Regions from separate parts of the Homo sapiens genome. Here all the other regions are linked to region 2. Evidence: promoter capture Hi-C in 16 types of primary human blood cells and fetal thymus (Javierre and others, 2016). All regions are on one chromosome and are shown on one strand. The core of a region is centred on a gene start or on the middle of the fragment in contact, and the rest is flanking DNA. Distances in the headings are between cores, read along the strand shown.

Region 1 (4,171 bases), core at 992-3,491, 190 kb after region 2:
TTGGTTGCAAGCGTTCTTAAATTTATTGTGTCACCTGCATGAGCAAGTGTATTTAGTATTTAGTAAATACAGACTAGGTATTTAGTAACTATCTGTGCATTCACTGACTCCCACCCCTAGTCCTGGAACTTGTTCTTTCTCCTACTACCTTAGTTGTTTAATTCTAATCCTTCCCCTGGGCCTCTGTGTTGAGGAAACCATATTACATCTCCATTAACCATCAGTGTCCTTAAGTTCTCAGTTATTTAGTACCTCCTCTTAATTTGTTCCTGTATCATTCTCATTCCACTTCTAAAGCATAATTTCCTCTCAAACTATATGGATTTTTCTCTATATTTAGCTCTTGGTTTTTCTAATCTCCTCCCCCTCCCTTCCCCTCATGTTTTGCTTCGTTTGCTCCTCATACATTCCCGTTCCTGTTCCTTTAGGGAGAAAACTGACACACATACACACTCACTGAGGCCTCCCTCCAGTAGGGATTTTTTTTTTTTTCTTCTGAGACAGAGTCTTGCTCTGTCACCCAGGCTGGAGTGCAGTGGTGTGATCTCGGCTCACTGCAACCTCCGTCTCCCGGGTTCAAGCAATTGTCCTGCCTCAGCCTCCCGAGTAGCTGGGATTACAGGCACGCCCCACCACGCCCAGCTAATTTTTGTATTTTTAGTAGAGATGGGTTTCACCATGTTGGCCAGGATGGTCTTGATCTCCTGACCTCATGATCCGCCCACCTTGGCCTCCCAAAGTGCTGGGATTACAGGTGTGAGCCACCGTGCTTGGCCCTTTTTTTTTTTTTTGAGACAGAGTCTTGCTCTGTCACCCAGGCTGGAGTGCAGTGGCATGATCTAGGCTCACTGCAACCTCTGCCTCCCAGGCTCAAGTGATTCTTGTGCCTCAGCCTCTTGAATAGCTGGGATTACAGGTGCATGCCACCATGTCTGGCTAAATTTTGTATTTTTAGTAGAGACGGGCTTTCACCATGTTGGCCAGGCTGGTCTTGAACTCCTGACCTCAAGTGATCCACCTGCCTCAGCCTCCAAGAGTGCTCACACCACCACGCCTGGCTTTTGTTTGTTTGTTTGTTTTTGTTTTTTTTTTTGAGACAGGTTCTTGTTCTGTCACCCAGGCTGGAGTGCAGTGACGCAATCATGGCTCACTGCAGCCTCAACCTCCTGGGCTCAAGTGATCCTCCCTCTTCAGCATTCCAAGTAGCTGGGACTACAGGTAACTGCCACCACACTGACTATTTTTTGTAGAGATGGGGTTTCATCATGTTGCCCTGGCTGGTCTTGAACTCCTGGGCTCAAGTGATCCACTGCCTCAGCCTCCCTAAGTGCTGGGATCACAGGTGCATGAAACTATGCCTGGCTAATTTTTAATTTTTTGTAGAGATGGGGTCTTGCCATGTTGCCTAGGCTGGTCTTGAACTTCTGGGTTCATGCAATCATACAGGCATGAATCACTGCACCCAGCTGGGAAATCTTTCTAAAGTCCTTTATGTATTGAGAATTCTTCACTGTATCAGTTATACCTTGTGTTGTAAATAACAGAATCCCCTCACTTGAATGGATTTGGTTTCAGGTAATGAGAATCCTGGAGGAGGACGTCTTCAGGTTGGTGGATGTGCAGTTTGGGAAGGCTACCAGGGACCTAGGTGTACTCTCTCCTTACTCTCCCTTCCCCCAGCACATCAGCTTGTCCTCGGGAAAGCTCTTCTCACGGCACTGATGGTAATGACACACCTAGGAATCCCGACATCAGCATGCCCTTATTGTACCATCTCAGCTCACTGGAGCCTAGACCTCCTGGGCTCAAGCAATCCTCCCATCTCAGCCTCCCAAGTAGCTGGGGTCACAGGCACATGCCACCATGCTTGGCTAATATTTTATTTATTTATTTTTTTTGTAGAGACAAGGTCTCACTAGATTGCTCAGGCTGGTTTTGAATGCCTGGGCTCAAGTAATTCTCCTGCCACAGCCTTCCAAACTGCTGGGATTACAGGCATGATGAGCCACCACACCTGGCCACATGCACTTTTTTAACTAATGCACTAGTAAGGGCGATGGGACAACCATGATTGATTTAGACCAGAGGGGTCAAGTTAGCAACCAAGTGCCGGGGGTATGTGGAATCACCTGGGTAGCTTTAAAAACCACTGATGCCTGAGTGTCCATGCCCTCATCATCCATTTTCATTGGTGATTTGGTTTGGCTGTGTCCCTACCCAAATCTCATCTTGAATTCCCACATGTTGTGGGAGGAACTTGGTGGGAGGTAATTGAATCATCGGGGCAGGTCTTTCCTGTGCTGTTCTCGTAATAGTGAATAAGTCTCACAAGATCTGATGGTTTAAAAAATGGGAGTTTCTCTGCACAAGCTCTCTCTTTGCTTACTGCCATCCATGTAAGACGTGACTTGCTCCTCCTTGCCTTCCACCATGATTGTGAGGCTTCCCCAGACACATAGAACTGTAAGTCCAATTAAACCTCTTTCTTTTGTAAATTGTCCAGTCTTGAGTATGTCTTTATCAGCAGCATGAACATGGACTAATACAGTAAATTGGTACCTGTAGAGTGGGGGTGCTGCTGGAAAGATATCTGAAAATGTGGAAGTGACTTTGGAAATGGGCAACAGGCAGAGGTTGGAACAGCTGGAGAGCTCAGAAGACAGGAAAATGTAGGAAAGTTTAGAACTCCCTTTAGTTTAGACTTGTTGAATGACTTTGACCAAAATACCGATAATGATATGGACAATGAAATCTAGGCTGAGGTGGTCTCAGATAAAGATGAAGAACTTGCTGGGGACTGGAACAAAGGTGACTCTTGTTATGTTTTAGCAAAGAGGCTGGCAGCATTTTGCCCCTGCCCTAGAGATTTGTGGAAGTTTGAACTTGAGAGAGATGATTTAGGGTAGCTGGTGGAAAAAATTTCTAAGCAGCAAAACATTCAAGAGGTGACTTGGGTGCTGTTAAAGGCATTCAGTTTTATAAGGGAAGCAGAGCATAAAAGTTCAGAAAATTTGCAGCCTGACAATGTGATAGAAAAGAAAATCCCATTTTCTGAGGAGAAATTCAAGTTGGCTATAAAAATTTGCAAAAGTAATGGGGGGCCGAATGTTAACCTGCAAGACAATGGGGAAAATGGCCCCAGGGCATGTCAGAGGTCTTCACAGCAGCCCCTCCCATCACAGGCCCAGAGACCTATGAGGAAAAAATGGTTTCGTGGGTTGGGCCCAAGGTCCCCATGCTGTGTGCAGCCTAGGGACTTGGTGCCCTGCATTCCAGCCACTCTAGCCATGGCTAAAAGGGGCCAAGGTACAGCTTGGGCTGTTGCTTCAGAGGGTGGAAGCCCCAAGCCTTGGCAGTTTCCATGTGGTGTTGAGCCAGTGGGTGCATATAAGTCAAGAACTGAGGTTTGGGAACCTCCACCTAGATTTCAGAGGATGTATGGAAACACCTGGATGTCCAGGCAGAAGTTTGCTGCAGGGGCAGGGTGCTCATGGAGAACCTCTGCTAGGGCAGTGTGAAAGGGAAATGTGGGGTCGGAGCCCCCACACAGAGTCCCTACTGGGGCACTACCTAGTGGAGCTGTTAGAAGAGGGCCACCATTCTTTAGACCCCAGAATGGTGTATCTACAGCTTGCACCATGTGCTTGGACAAGCCGCAGATGGTCAACAGCACATGAAAGCAGCCAGGAGGGGGGCTATACCCTGCAAAGCCACAGGGGCAGAGCTGCCCAAGACCAAGGGGACTTACCTCCTGCATCAGTGTGACCTGGATGTGAGACCTGGAGTCAAAGAGATCATTTTAGAGCCTTAAGATTTGACTGCGCTGGGTGCGGTGGCTCATGCCTGTAATCCCAGCACTTTGGGAGGCCGAGGTGGGCAGATCATGAGGTCAGGAGTTTGAGACCAGCCTGCCCAACATACTGAATCCCTGTCTCTACTAAAAATACAAAAATTAGCCAGGCGGGGTGTCGGGCACCTGTAATCCCAGCTACTCGGGAGGCTGAGGCAGAAGAATTGCTTGAACCCGGAAGGTGGATGTTGCAGTGAGCCAAGATCATGCCATTCACTCCAGCCTGGGCGACAGTGCAAGACTTCATCTCAAAAAAAAAAAAAAAAAGATTTGACTGTCCCAGTGGATTTTGGACTTGCATGGGGCCTGCAGCTCCTTTGT
Region 2 (4,174 bases), core at 1,277-3,776:
AATTAATCCATATTTGTTTTCAGTAAGGAAAAAAAGATGTACCTCTTCCCGTCAATAAAGAAATAACACAAATTAAAGCTATAAAATTTAAGCATGGGCATATGTATTTCCAATTCTCCTTAATAAGTAATTCCAAACTGGAATAATGTGGGGTTTGTGACTAAGTAGTAACAAATTAAAAGAAAATAGACTGTCTCTGGCAGTGATTTCCATATTAGTGCAATGTTACTTCCCATATGCTGAATTATATTTAAATGATTTTATGTATTTTAATTCAGTAGGTGCCAATTTGAGTTTATAAAATCCTTAATTTTATTCTTTGTGCAGAAAAGTTTCAATTTGAGATACTCTATGAAGCCAAAACAAAACAAAACAAAACAAAAAACCTGTATTTTGCTACTAGTAGTATGAATACCAAATAAAGATACAAGGATTCAAAGTTTGTGGAAGTTCCTGAAGAAAAATCTCTGAGGTGTTCTACGTATCTTGATACTTCAATTATCAATTAGTTTTGAACATTCTAGTTTAAGATTATCTCAGAAAATAATTCTCTGTAATATAACTCTGAACTAAACAGCTGCACCCAAAGCAGAAACAATCTGGGTCATTCTGAACGAGATCAAACTGAGGCCATTTCTTTTTCTATTATAATCTGTGAGGTGTTGAGTTTTTAAGTTTTAAAAATGGCCTTTAATCAAAGCCAGCTGCACCTGATATAGACTTGTTAACTTATGGATTTCAAATTAGAGGACACTGTAACTACGGGCTCTCATAAGACACATGGAGCAGGCAGCAAGGGGCTAACCATCAGCCGGGTAAGGTCAACGTTGGGGTGTTTTATTTTGGAGACTTTAAATATTTAACATGTAGCTCATGTAACTTCAGCATCCACTAGTGACTCTGCTGGTCAGCACCCAAGGGCTGGATGAGTCTGAGGAATCTCCTTTAACCCCAAAGTATGAATGCTAAAGAGTCTCAAGGAAATTTTGATTCCCAGCAAGAGTTCACAAACCATCAGACCAATATCAATAAGGTAAACTGTGACTCTAATGCTCCACAAAAGTAAAAAGAAATTTCCAAATTAAATGTCATCTTCTGCCCAACCCTAGACTCCAGACTTTGTAACAACATTTTTATCTAGTATAATAGACTCTGTAGTAGACTGATTTTGACCGCCACAAAGAGTAGGAGTTGTCAAACTTGAGGAGATAGACTCCTCTCCCTGGATATTGATGGCTGCCAGCATACACCTCCTCATGACAGTCCCGTCGGTACACAGGCACAATCTCATCCAGCAAAGGCTTGTTGGCATTCTTTTTGGCTTTCTCTTCACAACCGATGTTTTCTGTAAGAACAGAGACAAGTCAATGAACAGATTCAGGAAAACCACACTTGCATCAGGCAATTAAAATCTATCCTTTCTTTTTTTTCTGGAGACAGAGTCTTGCTCTGTCACCCAGGATGGAGTGCAGCGGCGTGATCTCAGCTCATTGCAACCTCCACCTCCTGGGTGCAAGCGATTCTCCTGCCTCAGCTTCCCAAGTAGCTGGGATTACAGGCGTGCACCACTACATCCAGGTAATTTTTGTATTTTTAGTAGACATGGACTTTCACCATGTTGGCCAGGATTGTCTCAATCTCCTGACCTTGTGACCCACCTGCCTCGGCCTCCCAAAGTGCTGGGATTACAGGCGTGAGCCACCGTGCCCAGCCTATCCTTTCTTTGAGAAACTGCTCTTGTTGGGAATTCTGTTGAACCATTTAACAAGTTATGTGCATGTGAGCATTTATTAGTTCGTTCATTCATTCATTCATTCACTCATTCATTCAAATACCTAAGTATGTGCTATACACCAAACCCTGTTCTGAGCCCTGGGAGCCCAGTGATGAACATCTAGTGGTAGCAGTGGTCAGCATCCTATCTCTTTCTGTGCTTACTACCATTCCTATTTCAAGGTCCCATTTTCCCCTTTCCATAGCCATTCAATTCCTAATTCATCCTCAGGAATTTCACTCATCTGAGTAACATGAAAATGTTGCTCTCATCATCCTCCTTCTGACCAATATGAGTCCTCCCCATTTTAGAAAGATGGAAGATGATTTGTGAGGACTATTGCTTTCTGTATATCTTAAATATAAGCAGTAAAATGAAAAAATCATAGTAGAGAGATAGGCATTCAGAGATACTCTGAAAATTCAATTATTTTCACTAGGCCAATTTAACCCAGAGATGATCTAAGTGGCAAAAAATGGGCTCTGAAAGGTTTGCCCCGGTTAAGAGTTTTTTGAACTGTAATGCTATGAGGTTAGGAAAAAAAATGCCTCTAGAAACCTACAGGAATGAGAAAATTATGAACCAGCTTCGAAGTCACAGTTTAACATATTTAATACAAACCAGCTCAAAGAGGTCAAGGGAGTATTCAGCACAGAAGACAAGACTTTCGGGTTTATGGTTGTTGTTTTTGTTTGTTTGTTTGTTTAAGAGACTGGGACTACAGGCATGGATTTTCAGGTTTATAACATGGCAGAGTGAATTCTGGCAACACACTGAGTGATGCTTGTCAATGGCCACTATCAGGAATTTAAAACAAGGTAAGTTTGAGAAATTCTCACCGTCTATAGCAGATTAAGGAGATATGATGACTGACTATAATGTGGCATCCTGGAAAGGATCTTGGAACATTAGGTAAAAACTAAAAACATCTGAATAAATATGGACTTTAGTTAATTAATGAATCAATGTATCAATATTGTTTCATTAGCTGTGATGAGTGCACCACAGTACAATGTAAGATGCTAACAACAGAGGGAACTTGGTGCAGGGTATATGGGTACTCTTTGTGCTATCTTTGTAACTTTTCTGTAAATCTAAAACTATTCTAAAATTAAAAGTTTATTTTAAAAAAGCAGATGGCACTCTTATAAAGGTAGGTCAAAACCAGATTTACTTAACCACAGAAATACCTATAATTAAGCATGTTTCACATGCAAATGAGAAATACAGAACCATCCAAAATGTACACTATTGTTGACATCCAAGAAATAGACTGGTCCATTGATTCAAGACTCAAATTTTGTTTTAAATCTATAAAACTAAAGATTACTGGGATAGATGAAAAGGCATCTTTTATGAATTTAAGCCAAGGTTTAGGACCTGTAAACAATGAAGAAAATGGAGAATTAAAACAGGAGGATGTGTTACCATCCATGCTTCTTCAGAGAAAGCAAACTCCTCTGTCTACCTTTCAAGACCTAAGGAAGAAAAACCAAACCAAAACCCAAAAAACTCAGACTCTTCTACCATATGAAATACAAGACACGGTAGGACAGTAGCTTCTAAGGCATATGGACAAATACAATTTGTGAGCTAAATCTTTAAATGGGATGAAGTGACGCTCATGTAATGAACAATTCTTAGGAATGATAAAGCTTCACTGCTGTGAGGCTAAAATGTTTTAGCTGCAAATCATTTTATGATTAGGAATGGTACAAGTACAGGGAATGCCATCTTTCATTTGAGGGACATATTAGAACTAAGATCAAGGATATTAAGGTTCTTACCTCTAGAAATGAACCCCTGCCATTTTCACTAGTGATCTTCCCAACACCAATATAACCCCAAAACTATCATCAGCTGAGGGTTCAGACTAGGCAGTAACCACCTTTTAGAAGCTCTCTAATAGGCAAGCCAGGAGAAATACATTACCTCAACCAACTTCTGAACAGAGAATTCTTATTCACAAAGCTCTTTCATTTTTTTTTTTTTTTGAGACGGAGTCTGGCTCTGTCGCCCAGGCTGGAGTGCAATGGCACGATCTCAGCTCACTGCAATCTCCACCTCCCGGGTTCAAGCGATTCTCCTGCCTCAGTCTCCCAAGTAGCTGGGATTACAGGCATGTGCCACCATGCCTGGCTAATTTTTGTACTTTTAGTAGAGATGGGGTTTCACCATGTTGGCCAGGCTGGTCTTGAACTCCTGACCTCAGGTGATTCACCCACCTCAGGCTCCCAAAGTGCTGGGATTACAGGTGTCAGCCACTGCGCCCAGCCATCTTTTTTTTTTTTTTTTTTTTTTTTTTTTTGAGATGGGGTCTGGCTCTGTGGCCCAGGCTGGAGTGAAGTGACTTGATCTCAGCTCACTGCAACCTCTACCTCCTGGGCTCAAGCAATTTTC
Region 3 (4,157 bases), core at 544-3,043, 160 kb after region 2:
ACCCATCAGCTAGCCACTATTACCACCATTACCACAGCATAGGCAGTATTAGAGAGAGGTGGCAGCATGCACTCCACCTTTCAAGACGTGGAAAATAAAGGATTGGGTGAGTCACTGGGTGTGAGGAGAAGGAAGTCTCATTGCTGATGCCAGCTCTGTGCCTTGGGTAACTGGGTGCTGCCATGCTAAGGTAGGAGGGAGAGCAGGGAGTGAGCAGGGAGGGTGAAAGTTCAATTTTACAAAGTAATCCTTCCTTCAGAGCTAGCTTAACCTCTCCTTTGCCTTCTAAACACACTCTGATCTGCTCCCTAAGAAGATTAAAACACTGGTCCTTGTTGTCAGCACCTAGGGGGTGCTTCAGCAGCTTGCACTTCAGTATCAATTTGGAGATGAGATCAAGAAAAGGTCAGCCCTTTAAGAATGGAAGAATAGAAATTAAAAAAACATGAGAGGTTACCAGAGTGGGAGAAGCAAAAGCTTTGTGAATGTCATGATAGTCAAGGTGTCATTAGACCAAGGCAAACCTGGTTTTATTCTGAGGCAGTTTTCATGTACACGCAACAACACAACTACTGTTTAAATCAATGTTTTTAGGCCCTTGCCTGATAATCTGCATTTTAAACAAAAACTTTGACTCTTCTCATAAATCCAAAGCCTGAAGCTGTATCCTAGCCCCAGATCTAGCGCTTAGCTGTGTGATCGAAGCCAAGGCACACCTAACTCTTCAATAAGTTTCGTTATTGAATATTTATGACAGGTTTTACAATGATTGGCTTACTTGATTCTCCCAACAACCTGGTAATTTGTCCAAAGACAATGGCAAGCAAGTGCTAGAATCAGGAATCTAGCCCACTTTTCGGTGCCTCAGTGACTCCCTCTGTGATGGGAGGATTACACGTATGTCTTTGTCCATTTGTGCTGCTATAACAAAACATCTGAGACTGGGTAATTTATAGACAACAAGAATTTTTTTTTTTTTTTTTGAGATGGAGTTTTGCTCTTGTCACCCACGCTGGAGTACAATGGTGTGATCTCGGCTCACTGCAACCTCTGCCTCCTGGGTTCAAGCGATTCTCCTGCCTCTGCCTCCAGAGTAGCTGGGATTACAGGTGCCTGCCACCACTCCTGGCTAATTTTTGTGTTCTTAGTAGAGACAGGGTTTCACCAGTTTGGCCAGGCTGGTCTTGAACTCCTGATCTCAAGTGATCTACCTGCCTCAGCCTCCCAAAGTGCTGGGATTACAGGCATGAGCCACCGTGCCCAGCCGACAACAAGAATTTATTTCTCACAGTTTCAAACGCTGGGAAGTCCAAGATCAAGGTGCCAATGTTGGTGTCTGGTGAGGGCAGCTCTCTGTTTCCAAGATGGTGGCTCGTTGCTCCATCCTCTGGAGGGGATGCATGCTGTGTCCTCACATGGTAGAAGGGACAGAAAGGCAAGAGAACACCTCCTTCAGTCTTGAGCCCTTTCATAAGGGTGCTAACCCCATTCACGAGAGCAGAACCCTCATGACTTAATCACCTCCCAGAGGCCACACCACTTAATACTGTTGCATTGGGGATTATGTTACAACTGAATTTTGGAGGGAATACCATCATTCAAACCATAGCAACATGCAACACAGGGGTATTAAGTTTCCTGCAATCACTTATTCCAATTTAAAATGACATGACTGTGTGTGGTGTTTGCTTTTTAAAAAAAACAAACCACGGTGTGGATAAGGTCATTAAGTCATGAAAAACCTAAATAAAAATACACCATAAGAAACATCTCATGTACCATCATAAATATATCCACCTACTATGTACCCACAAAAATTCTAAAAAATTTTAAAAATACCATAAGAAAAATAAACATGGCCACGTTTTAGAAATACCAGGTTTGACCATTTCTAGTCCTGTGGCCTATTTATCAATTATTGGGTTGGATTATTTTTGTGAAAACAGTTGCAATGACTAAAGATAAAATGTGTGTGTTGGGGGCCTGGTGCAGTGGCTCACACCTGTAATCCCAGCACTTTGGGAGGCTGAGGCAGGTGGATCGCCTGAGCACCTGAGATCAGGGGTTTGAGACCAGCCTGACCAACATGGTGAAACCCAGTCTCTACTAAAAATACAAAACTAGCCAGGCGTGGTGGCTTGTGCCTGTAATTCAAGCTACTTGGAAGGCTGAGGCAGGAGAATTGCTTGAACCTAGGAGGTGAAGACTGCAGTGAGCTGAGATCACACCACTGCACTCCAGCCTGGGTGACAGGGTGAGACTCCGTCTCAAAAAAAAAAAAAAAAAAAAAAAAAGCGTGTGTGTGTATAGTATGTGTGTGAATGTTTTTATAAATACTTTTGATAAAGTTGGGAATTTGAGTTAGTAATGAAAAAACAAAGACAATTCAGTTTGCCTTGCTTGAGTATCTCAGCCATAATGAGGTAAAAAGGCTCTCCAGCCTATAAATATATATATTTTTAAGTTATGTTGCTGGTAGGACTCCACACTCAGCATTTCCTCTTCCAGCATCCAAGTACACCAGGAGTACTGATGGCCCCAGGATCTAGGTTCAAATTGCAGTTCACCTACTTCCCTTGTGTGTATTCTTGAACAAATTACTCTCAGTAGTAGTTTTTAGTTTTCTTCTCCCTTTCTTGAAGGGTTATCATGAAGATTAAATTACATATTGTAAATTAAGTGCCTACCAAGATCTCCAGTGACTGTTGGTATCCTTCCTTGATGAGAATCCCTCTTTTACAACATAAATATTCTCAAAAATGTGCCCAGTGGCCATCCTGGTAATTCCCTTCAGAATCATCTCCCTGAACATGTTCAGAGCAGTGGAAACAGGCGTGAGGAGTGAGAGCAGAAGACATGGGTTCTAAGCCTTGCTTTACCTCTAGTGAGCACCATGATCTCGGACAAGTCATTGAACCTTTCTGCCTTCGTCTTTCCCATTTGGGGAGTGAATATAACTACACTGCCCTACCTAGATCACAATGTGAGGATGCATGTCCATAAAATTGAGATAATAAAAGATAAAATTCTCTACATGTGCTAGATATTATGTATAACATCCAAGTTTAGTGGAGTTTAGTATGTTACACTACTCTAATGAAAACTATAACAAAGCTTTTTAAAAAATCATATACAATACAAATGTGAAACTCATAATGAACCAAAGACCTAAATGTAAAAGCTAAACCATAAAAATTCCTAAAAGAAAACATAGGTGTAAATCTTCATGACCTTAGATTAAGCAACAGTTTCTCAGCTATGACACAAAAGCACAATCAACCAAAGAAAGTATAAATTGGACCTCATCAAAATTAAAAATTTGTGTGTTTCAAAGGGCACTATCAAGAAAGTGAAAAGACAACCCTTAGAATGGGAGAAAATATTTGCAAATCTTATATCTGATAAAGCACTTGTATCCAAAACATTTAAACACATTTAAAACTCTTATAACTTGGTAATAAAAAGACAACCCAATTCAAAAATGTGTGAAGGATCTGAATAGACATTTCTCCACAGTAGATAAGTCAATAAGCACACAAAAGACTGTTCAAGATCATTATCATTGGGGAGCTACAAATCAAAACCACAATGAGATACCAATTCACACCCACTGGGATAGCTATGATAAAAAAGACAGATAATAACAAGTGTTGGCAAGGATGTGAAGAAATCAGAACACTGTGTACTGCTATTGGGAATGTAAAATGGTGCAGCTGCTATGGAAAACAATATGGTGGTTCTTCAAAGATTTATACATAAAAGTACTATGCTATATGATCCAGCAATTCTACTCTGAATATAAATACCCAAAATAATGAAAAGCAAGGACTCAAACAAATATTTGTACACCCATGTTCTTAGCAGTATTACTTCACAATAGCCAAGAGTTGGACGCAACCTAAGTATTTATTGATGGATGAATGGAAAAAGAAAATGTGGTACATAAATACAATAGAAAATTATTTAGTCTAGAAAAGGAAGAAAATTCTGTCATATATGAGGGGTCTTAAGAAAGTTCATGGAAAATGCATATTATGAAAAAACTGGTCATGCATGGTGGCTCGTGTCTGTAACCCCAGCACTTTGGGAGGCCAAGGCAAGCAGATCACCTGAGGTCGGGAGTTCGAGACCAGACTGGCCAAAATGGCAAAACCCTG

Evidence for each region. The method cuts DNA at HindIII sites, captures the fragments that hold promoters and counts their contacts. A CHiCAGO score of 5 or more calls a contact.
Region 1: a contact is called between a fragment that was not itself captured here and the fragment with the promoter of ACBD3-AS1 in region 2, in 1 of 17 cell types (megakaryocytes). The highest score is 5.5, in megakaryocytes.
Region 3: a contact is called between a fragment that was not itself captured here and the fragment with the promoter of ACBD3-AS1 in region 2, in 1 of 17 cell types (total B cells). The highest score is 5.7, in total B cells.

What each region holds. Positions count from the first base shown.
Region 1 is chr1:226,337,936-226,342,106 of GRCh38, forward strand. No RefSeq gene overlaps it. Among named protein-coding and RNA genes, the nearest start is that of LIN9, 31 kb to the left of the region's middle. The HindIII fragment of the contact is 5,339 bases long and covers 1-4,171 here.
Region 2 is chr1:226,145,477-226,149,650 of GRCh38, forward strand. It overlaps ACBD3-AS1 (ACBD3 antisense RNA 1), which reads left to right and starts at 2,527. Exons shown (of 2, transcript NR_146443.1): 1 at 2,527-2,592. It overlaps ACBD3 (acyl-CoA binding domain containing 3), which reads right to left. Exons shown (of 8, transcript NM_022735.4): 8 at 1-1,345. The coding sequence ends at 1,134. It also overlaps the pseudogene LOC124904586. The HindIII fragment of the contact is 12,330 bases long and covers 1-3,427 here.
Region 3 is chr1:226,310,678-226,314,834 of GRCh38, forward strand. No RefSeq gene overlaps it. Among named protein-coding and RNA genes, the nearest start is that of LIN9, 3.6 kb to the left of the region's middle. The HindIII fragment of the contact is 2,637 bases long and covers 476-3,112 here.